2 separate regions of the Homo sapiens genome follow, and region 1 is linked to region 2. The links are contacts of gene promoters, found by promoter capture Hi-C in blood cells and fetal thymus (Javierre and others, 2016). All regions are on one chromosome and are shown on one strand. The core of a region is centred on a gene start or on the middle of the fragment in contact, and the rest is flanking DNA. Distances in the headings are between cores, read along the strand shown. Region 1 overlaps LHFPL3 (LHFPL tetraspan subfamily member 3). Region 2 holds the start of SLC26A5 (solute carrier family 26 member 5).

Region 1 (4,773 bases), core at 2,222-4,721, 1.5 Mb before region 2:
ATCAACCACTGTGGAAAGCAGTTTGGAAATTTCTCCAACAACTTAAAACAGAACTATCATTCAACCCAGCAATCCCATTAGTGGCTATATGCCCAAAGGAAAATAAATCCTTCTACCAAAAAGACACATGCACTCATATGTTCGTTGCAGCACTATTAACAATAGGAAAGACATGGGATCCACCTAGGGGCCCATTAGTAGTGGACTGGATAAAGAAAATGTGGTACATATACACCATGGAATACTATGTGGCCATAAAAAATTGGCTGGGCATTGTGGCTCATGCCTGCAATCCCAGCACTTTGGGAGGCCAAGGTGGGCAGATCACTTGAGGTCAGGAGTTCGAGACCAGCCTGGTCAATATGGCGAAAACCCATCTCTACTAAAAATACAAAAATTAGCTAGGCATGGTGGCAGGCACCTGTAGTCTCAAGCTACTTGGGAGGCTGAGGCAGGAGAACCACTTGAACCCGGGAGGCAGAGGTTGCAGTGAGCTGAGATCACACCACTGCACTCCAGCCTGGGTGACAGAGCAAGACGCTGTCTCAAAAAAAAAAAAAAAAAAAAGTATAACTAGAAGGATGAATAGGGAGACCACAGAGGGCCATCTATGTGTGTGTGGGGCAGGGGAAAACGGGGTCAGGAGGGTAGTCCTCATTTTCTTGAGGTTCTCAAGTAAGTACACTCCTAATTTCATAATAGAAAAGCCTGCTTTGGTGTGAATCATTTGTTGGCATCCATGAACCAGAGACTCCCTGTTTCTCTCTCCTTGGTGCTAAGCTGCCTGGTTTGACTTTATGACATCACAGGATGAAGGAAAAGTAAGATTGCCAAGAAGGAAGTACATGTATCTAAGGCTGCATCCCAGTCAGGGTAAGACCTGTTCTCAGTGGGCTGGGAAGGGAGCAGTGAGTGTTGGAAGGACTTTAGATCAGACCCCAGGGTAGTGACACCCATACCTGCGGGAGGTAGAGGGGAGAAGGAAGCCTCCGGCAGGGCAGATGTCTCCCTGGGAAGATCCTCAGCTCTCTTACAGGAAGGTTCCGGGAACATTTGCGGCCAGTTTCACAAAACTTTCTCTTTCTCCTTCATCATCTGGGCCCACAGCCTGGGGCCTGACCCTAACAGGTCATTCATCAACAACCCTTCTTGAATCTGCTCTGGTCTTGGGTCACCCGTGGCCTTCATATGGCCAAATCCCTCATTAGATCCCTCGCTGTAACTTCACTCTTTTTGTTTTTCTTGAGACAGAATCTCACTCTGTTGCCCATGCTGGAGTGCAGTGGCGTGATCTCGGCTCACTGTAACCTCCGCCTCCCTGGTTCAAGCGATTCTCCTGCCTAAGCTTCCCGAGTAGCTGTGATTACAGGTATGCGCCACCATGCCCAGCTAATTTTTTATTTTTAGTACAGATGGGGTTTCACCATGTTGGCCAGGCTGGTCTCGAACTCCTGAGCTCAGGTGATCCACCCACCTCGGCCTCCCAAAGTGCTGGGATTATAGGAGTGAGCCACCGCACCCGGCCTAATCTCACTATTGATTAGTCAGTCCTTCATTCCTAAAGCTCTCTTCTTCTTCTCCCTCCTCCCCCTCCTCCTCCTCCTCCTTCTCCTCTCCCTCCTCCTCTTCCTCCTCTTCTTTTTGAGACAGGGTCTTGCTCTGTGACTCAGGCTTCTTGACTACAGCGGCACAATCATAGCTCACTGTGGCCTCTACCACCTCCAGGCTCAAATGATCCTCCCACCTCAGCCTCCCACATAACTAGGACCACAGGCACGCGTTACCATGCCCAGCTAATTTAAAATTTTTTTTTATAGAGATGGGGTCTCATTATGTTTCCCAGGCTGGTTTCAAACTCCCGGACTCAAGTGATCCTCCCACCTTGGTCTCCTGAAGTATTGGGATTACAGGCATGAGCCACTGCACCTGGCCATTAAAGGTTTCTTCTTTGTTGAGTATTGTCAACTCTGGGACTGTACTTCTGACCCACAGTATCTGTGGTGGGCAGGGAGCTGAGAAGTAAGTGGGAAAATGAAAGTGTGAAGCCAGTGAGCCAGGCCTGGAATAGGGTGAGGCAAGTGAGTGTCTAGGGTATAAAATTTAAGGAGCTCACTTGCAGGGTCATGCAAGTGTGAGGTGAGTGCTTCTTTAAAACTTGCAGGGCCAGTCGTGGTGGCTCATGCTTGTAATCCCAGCACTTCGGGAGGCTAAGGTGGCAGGATTGCTTGACCCAGGAGTTCAAGACCAGCCTGGGCAACATAAGGAGATGCTGTGTCTACAGAAAATAAAAAAAAATTAGCCAGGTGTGATGGTGCACACCAGTGGTCCCAGCTATGTGGGAGGTTTAGGTGGGAGGATCGTTTGAGACCAGGAGGTCGAGGCTGCAGTGAGCCATGAACGCACCACTGCACTCCAGACTGGATGACAGAGCAAGACTGTCTCAAAAAACAAGCAAACAAACAAAAAAACAAAAAAGCTTGCCCCCTAGGTACCTAGCTTGCCTCACCCTAATCCCAGCCTTGCCCATGAGTGCATGCTGCTCATCAGAAGGCGTGCTGGGAATGTTTGCTTGGATTTGAGTTACTTAGACACTGCGACCAGAGCATATTTTTTCTTCCTACTGCATGACACCACCACGCAACAGAAACCCCAGGGCATGCAGAAGTTCTGCAGACTCTTAGGCTGAATAATAATAACCAGCTGTGATCAGAACACAACCACTCCCCACAGAATATCAGGAAAACACTTTGTTGGGGGAGTAAAATTAGAATGTTATTACAACTACTTAGATAGTATGCACATGAAGAGTTTTCCACCTGAAGGCTTGGCAAGGACTAGCTCTTCAAACAGATTTGTAAAGAGAGTAAGTGGAAGGAAATAAAAGTCAGAATTTTCCTCTCCAGATGTGGCCATCACTCCTTCAGTCTTAAGACCGTGAGACACGAGGACAATTTGCAGAATTTGGTGGAAGCATCAGTGTGGTGTAATTGCCACCTTGTGAAACATTCTGCTCTTTTAAAAACTTGGCTAACATTTCCCATGCACCATGGATGTTGCCTATCAGGGGAGGTAATTTAAAATATGTCACATTCTCCCAGGTTTGTACAGAGCAGGAATGAATAAATAAGTCATTCAATGCTGCTTTGGATCTTTGTTCAGTCAGATTTGTCCTTGTAACATGTCATGGGCTCGGAGTTGCCCATGTTACATTTCCAAAGGGCTCTTTGCAAATCCTTTTCAAAGCTGTCATTTGAATCACTGCTCATGAGTGCAGCATTTATAATGGCCCTATTGTCCAGGCTATCTAAATGCTACTTGGCTGAATTTTCCACGTGTTTACAGATGTTGAAATGTCTCCTGTGGTTGGTTTCTGCTCATTGTTCCTGTCTGACCTTTTTAATTAGGGTCTGGAGCCCCCACAGTCAGGAGAGCTGACTCCTCCTGTCTCCCTTTGGATCTGACATACCGATTTCAACACAGGAGACGATGGAGGATAATTACTAAAATTATTCTAGCTACTTATGCAGATCTTCGGTGAGAAGGGGCAGAAAATGGCCTAAGAGTCAGGCCTTGATAATTCTGTGCTATTTCTGTATGCAGTGGACAATGAGACTTTGACACAAGGCACAACACTTTCTCATGTGTTTTTTTCTTTGGAAAGTAAGTATTTCACAAGAAGGGATTTCAATTAACTCATGAACGTCTCTTTCTCTTCTTCCACTCATTCCCCTTAAGGAACACTGTGAAATATATTAAAAGCAAGAAAACAGGCACAATTACTTGGCAGGCCTTACCCAGGCACATTGAAAATAGAATGTTGCTGCTGATTTATAAATCCTAATAATATTAACTGTCCAGTTTTGGCATGAAGCCATTCCATATTTTACATAGGTTGAAAGGCTTTTACTATTGAAGCCCAGAAGACAGGTCCATGGCAGGGTGACAGTGTAGCATCCTTGACTCTTAGTGCATTTGATGAGAACTAATAAATTGGCGGCCAGGCACGGCGGTGGCTCACGCCTGTAATCCCAGCACTTTGGGAGGCCAAGGCAGGCAAATCACCTGAGGTCAGGAGTTCGAAACCAGCGTGTCCAACATGGTAAAACCCTGTCTTTACTAAAAATACAAAAATTAGCCAGGTATGGTGGCAGGTGCTTGTAATCCCAGCTACTTGGGAGGCTGAGGCAGGATAATCACTTGAACCCAGGAGGCAGAGGTTGCAGTGAGTTGAGATCACGCCACTGCACTCCAACCTGGGTGACAGAGTAAGACTCCATCTAAAAAAAAGAATTAATAAATTAGGGGGTGATCTTAATGTTCTGTCCCTACTTTAGTGACTGACATGCACTTTCCTGAAAGTGCTGTCCTTTGAAATACTTTGAAAGTGTTGGCTTTTCAAAATAATAAATTCATCTCTGTTCATTGTCATTTAATATTGAGCTTCATACATGTTCCTTTAAGCTTCCTCTCCTTCCTGTGTGGGAAAGACTACCAGCTTCGTATCATTTTCCCGTTTCTTGATTCTGTCCTTACTTCCCTTCCTGCCAGAGGTACTCTCTCTCTCTCAGCGAGGTCTGTCCCACAGGTGTTCTTTCTCCAAATATCATCTTGAAGTCAATTGGCCTTCCTTGATAATATGTTTCCTGATTTTCTCGGCGGCATATAGTTCAGTGGTTAAATGTGTGTGTTCAGGAGCCATTCTCCCTGGCTTTCAACCCTAATTCAACAACTTACCAGCTGGGTAACTCTAGAGAAGATGTTTTACATATCTGT
Region 2 (5,083 bases), core at 481-2,980:
GGAAGGGGGTAGGGGGTGGGGAAGACTCATATTAAAAGCAAACTCATCTCTAAACCAGAAATAATAGCAATATCTATACAAGTAAATACATGTACTCAGAACAGTGCCTACTACATGTAAACACTGAACAGGTGTTAGCAACATTGCCATTATTGTGTTAGTATATTAGGTACCTGGTGCTACCGGCAAAACCAGTTTATCATCCAACTGTCTCCAGTGTTGCTACTCAAAGTTTGGTCCTCCAGTAGCCTATCAGGATCACCCAGGGGCCTGTTAGAAAGGCACATCTCAGACCCCACCCCAGACCTACTGAATCAGAATCTGCGTTTTTAACGGGATCCGCAGGTGATTCCTATGCACATTAAAGTGTAAGAAGTACTGGGCTACAGACAGGTATGTGACAAAATAATTTCATAGGATGGCAAAGGCCAAGTGGCAAATGAAGGACACCAGAAATGCACGTCCCAGGAGCCCAACTCCTCCTTAGTAAATTACCCTATTAAGATTTGTTTAGAGATGTTCAAAAGCGTGGAGAAAAGCAAATTTGGTTTCCTCAGCTAGGGACGCGGAGAGTGGTCTGGTGCCCTTGAAGAGATCGCCCTCGTGTGGAGTAGGGAGGGAATCTCTAGCCTTTCCTCTCGGATGAAGAACAGCACCAGCGCTCCCAGCCAAAGGCCTGGCCCAGGTTCTGGAGGTGGGGTCTCCTTGGCAGAAGCCTCTGGTGTCTGCAGGCGTGCATTTACAGCTTTAAGACCAAACAGCTAGTCCGCCACGTGTCACTACAGTGTGCACGCGCAGAAATGCACAAAGCAAAAAAAAAAAAAAAGATGCTCTTAATGAACCAACTATAATCCTTGCTAAGGCATAAAGCCAGAGGGAAGTATGTATCTGAAATCATTTTCTACCCCTCACCCTCTTGGAGCCCGGCACTCTGGCTGCGGTGCTCTCTTGTATCCCAGTTGCTAGATGCAAAACAAGCTATTTCCTATCTAATTTTTTTTTTTAAGAGACGGAGTCTCGCTTTGTTGCCCAGGCTGGTCTCAAACTCCTGGACTCAAGCAATTCTCCCAGCTTGGGGTAACGTGTTACATTATTCTACTTAATAAAAAGCAAAAGTTGTTTTATAAATTCTAACTTAAATGCCCAGAAAATAACTTATCATGCATTGCCTTGTCGTGCAATAGTCAATATTTGCAAACCAAGTGTTAACCAAAGGCAGTTCATCAAAGATTTTTGAAAATTAAAAAAAAAAAAAAACTCATACTCACATTGTCCTCAGGATTTCCTGTTTTCGAAATGTTCCTGTACGAATCGGAGTCTCTATAATGATTGTAATTGAAAAGATAAGTCAGGTTTTTTGTGTTTTTTTTTCATTTTAAAATCATAATACGCAATGTTTTCCACTTGAACGCTATACCTTGTGTATTGTGCTTGCTTCAGCCTCGAGCCTCTACTGATGTTCCACCTCAAGGCGACAGGAATGCCACCTGGAGAAACTCCTGGGCGGTATGGGAAGAAAGCCGGTCTCATCAGAGTATATTTGCGGGGATCGACGACCAAGGTGTTAAATTCCAAGCACGCTTTGGAAAGTTCTAGGTGCTTGGGAAGAGATCCGTAGGCGGCAGGGATGCCCGCGCCCCGGCGTCCCAGCGCGGAGGGTGGCGGCGGGGCCTGGCCCTAGCGGGGCGGGGCGGGCTCGGGTTACCGGGAGTCGCGGGGCGCGGCCGGCACTGCCCGCGGCGCCTCCTCCTAGAGCCGCACCTGGAGGCAGCGCGCGCGTCGAAGAGGCAGCGGCTGTGGAGCGCGGCGGGGCGGCTCCGCCCAGGGCAGCCCGGGCTGGTGAGTGCGCGCGGGCGGCCGCGGGGCCGGGGGTCGCGGTCCCTCGGGAGGGGACTGAGCTGAGGCCCGCGGGCCCACCCGAGCAGGGGCCCTCGCTGTCACCGCCTCTGCCCCTGTCTCCCAGGCCCCATGTCGCGCTTTTTCCCTAAACGAACCGGTGACAGGGCTGACCTGCCCGCACTCTGCTGGTCCCTACGCCGGGAAGGAGAAAGTCTCACGAAGCTCTTTCCTTTGCAACCCCTGTCCCCTTGCCCTCTGCAGCTCCACACAGCATTTTTACTTCCCGTTTGCCTCCTCGAATCCCTTCGGTGCTAATCCAGCCCTTCGCCGTTTCCAGTTTGGGTCTGGCCTGTTTGTATCCAAATCGAATTACACAAAACCAGGCCCTCAGTTCTGCCTCTGGCCCTCTTTCCGGAGACGGGCCCTGCCTCCTCCTGTGCCGGGCTGGGCTTGCCCGGCATTGGCCGCCCGGAGCTCCCAGGGAGCAAGGCTGTGGTCCCGAAACTGGGCCCTCCGCTCAGCGCCGGGCAAGGCTCAAACCCCGGGTCTCTGACTTATCCGGTCACGAAGGGACTGCTCAGAGCCTAACAGCCCTAAAATTTGGTATTGGCCCCCTCCCGGGAAATCCTTCTCCCTACCAATCAGGCATCGCGGCAGGTGCTCTGCCATCATAGAGGCTCTGACACGCTGAACTCTCGAAGCTCGCGGCAGTGTTTATTTTTAGGAGAGATTTAGTTGATCGGGAACCAATTGACTTGGTTGACTGCCTCATCTAGTGCGCACCTGGGCCGGGCCCCGCCGGGAAGGCGTGCTGGACGTTCTCAGTGAGCTCCGAGACCTACAGAAGAAACAGCTGCAAGGATCCGATCAGCTAGCTGTGAAGAAAGCCTCAGATACGCTGTGGGGTGGGCAAAATTCTTTTCCTAGCTTCGATGAGTACTGTGGATTCTAGAATTTAAACAACATTCATGGAGACTCTTAAAACAACAAAAAATATCAACTTTTTGCGGGCACAGACTGAGATTTAGCTTTTTCCTATCTGAAAACTGAACAATGTGCACTAGATATAAATGTATTATCTAAAGTTTAGGAATTTACAGCATAGAAATGCAGGGGAATTCGGAGTATGCAATACGAAGTATCAACCTTTTTGAAAATGAAATTTAAAATGTATTTTTGTCAGGCATTCCTTCTAATTACGGTAGTATTGCTTTGTATCAGAAGACTTTCAGGCAAAGGACAGGAGGGAAGAGAGAGAAATTCAAACTAATTTGCATTAGAAAGAAACTTAGGGTGAAGAATTGCCTAGGTAAGGTTGCTATAGCTCATATCTTAAGTGCACTCTTGGAAAGCTTTCTAGTCTATTAGGTAACACCTGAAGCCCCAATTCTCTTATGTAGCATTTCTTTTTTTCTCTCTTTAACTACTCTGAAACTATACAGAGTTACACGTTCCTCATTAATTTATGAGTGAAACCAAAAGAATTGACTCAATCCAACAAGTATTTGAGTGCTTTTCGCATAGAGGCGCTTTGCTAAGAACAGAAGAATGGAAGACTGAGGAAGTTTCTAACAATCAATGGATTGCCTTGTGAGGTGTAGATGCAGGTGTGCACTGCCTATTTAATTGACGATCAAAGTCAGTTGAGTTTTCATCTCATTCTAAATATCATGTGTTGCCCCCTGGTATCTTAATTTTTCTACCGTTGCAGGTAGTCTGCATTTTAGTAACCCAAGTGAAACAGTTTTCTAGGGAAATCATGATAAATAGGAAGCACGTCCGTATTCCCAGGTGTTCTCATTATCATTAAGTTAATAAAGTTAAGAAAAATAAGATGATGATTTTCCTTTCTTTTGGTTTCAAACTAGTGAAATCTTGCACAAAAGACACAGCATGGATAAATTTAATCATTTTGTGACTCAGAGTACATTTTATGTAAGTCCATTCTGTTGGAGGATAGATCCAATTTCATGAACTCTTTTAATCCTTCTTTTGAAGACTAGTTCCAGGACCAACTTCATAAAATGTTTTATTGTAGGTACCAACAACTATCAACATCATTATCTTCTCCCCACCTTCACCCTTGAAAACAATTGTATTCTAGAGGATTATGAAGGAGGGGACAGGACTCTTTCAAAATCTGGAGGACACTAGGGACTTACCCCAGAAAAAAAATAAAAAAGCTCACCCATTCAAAATCTTGTACACCTTTCAGAGGATTCCTGGTGCCCAGGTTATGAAAGCTCACTTCAGAACGGGTCAGCGAATTAGTCAGAGGATAGGTAGATGGAGGGAAAGGGAAATGAAGCAATGTGGGTAAATTCACAAACTGAGTGGATATGACTTAATTTACTTTCAAATAGAATAAATACATGGCCCCTTGAGTAAGTATTCTGTGAATGGGAAGGAATAATTGTATTCTTTGTAAAAGACTGAAGACAGATTAGCCTAATTAAGTTTTTAATTGATCAAGATCAACTCTTATCTTGAACATTATGAGTCTCTCATTTTTCTACTTTTCTTGCTCTTTTCAAGGCAACTGCTCTAAGAGGATTTGCTCCCACTACTGATGATGCCCCATTCTGGACACAATTTCTCATATGCAAACTTGTATTCATGAATTGCTACATATGGGAATGGCTGAGTTCAAAAATTGAACTATATCTTTCTCACATCCTAGCAGTTCACCCTTAGGAAGAAGATATAATTATATATAATTAGTCTATCGCATGTAAGCCACTGTGATAGCAGTAGCTGTGCCTTGGAAGGGAGTGGGTTGGTATTAGGAATGAAAGGAGAGCGTTAAGAAATATTTTGGACATAGCTTCTTTCAAAAAACAAACCAACAACTGCTGAATTAACTTCCTTTTCTTCTTCTATACATAGGGCCAAGGAGCGAGCTCTCCCTTCTCCTGCTCTCAGCCTCAGTGATCAAGGCTTCAGTGAACTGCACTGGAGCTCCCAGCGGGGGATCTTGTCCCCTGTCCCGACTTTTGTGCTGCACATTGGATCTGGGTAAGTAGACGGCCCCCTGGAACTAGTAAATAGGAGAGTGGGTCAGAGGTAGTAATGGATTTTATCCAGATCAAAGGATTCCTCAAAATTTCCAGAGGTCTAAATCACACACCACTATTTGGAAGAAAAGTATAAGACAGAATGCCAGAACCATCACACCTTACACTTACCTTTTAACTTGGATCAGGATCAGCCTAAGATATCCTTAGCTATCAACCAGCTTTGACTT

Evidence for each region. Contacts are between HindIII fragments. The CHiCAGO score rates a contact against its expected background, and 5 or more counts as called.
Region 1: a fragment that was not itself captured here is called in contact with the fragment with the promoter of SLC26A5 in region 2 in 1 of 17 cell types (naive CD8 T cells); the score reaches 5.3 in naive CD8 T cells.

What each region holds. Positions count from the first base shown.
Region 1 is chr7:104,899,257-104,904,029 of GRCh38, reverse strand. All of the region lies in intron 2 of LHFPL3 (LHFPL tetraspan subfamily member 3), which reads right to left. The region is part of intron 3 of LHFPL3-AS2 (LHFPL3 antisense RNA 2); the gene reads left to right. Among named protein-coding and RNA genes, the nearest start is that of LHFPL3-AS2, 25 kb to the left of the region's middle. The HindIII fragment of the contact is 1,985 bases long and covers 2,479-4,463 here.
Region 2 is chr7:103,442,854-103,447,936 of GRCh38, reverse strand. It overlaps SLC26A5 (solute carrier family 26 member 5), which reads left to right and starts at 1,730. Exons shown (of 20, transcript NM_198999.3): 1 at 1,730-1,839; 2 at 4,726-4,854. It overlaps SLC26A5-AS1 (SLC26A5 antisense RNA 1), which reads right to left and starts at 2,730. Exons shown (of 4, transcript NR_110141.1): 1 at 1,418-2,730; 2 at 1,269-1,320. RefSeq lists a silencer at 1,655-1,724 and an enhancer at 1,781-2,357. The HindIII fragment of the contact is 4,246 bases long and covers 1-3,193 here.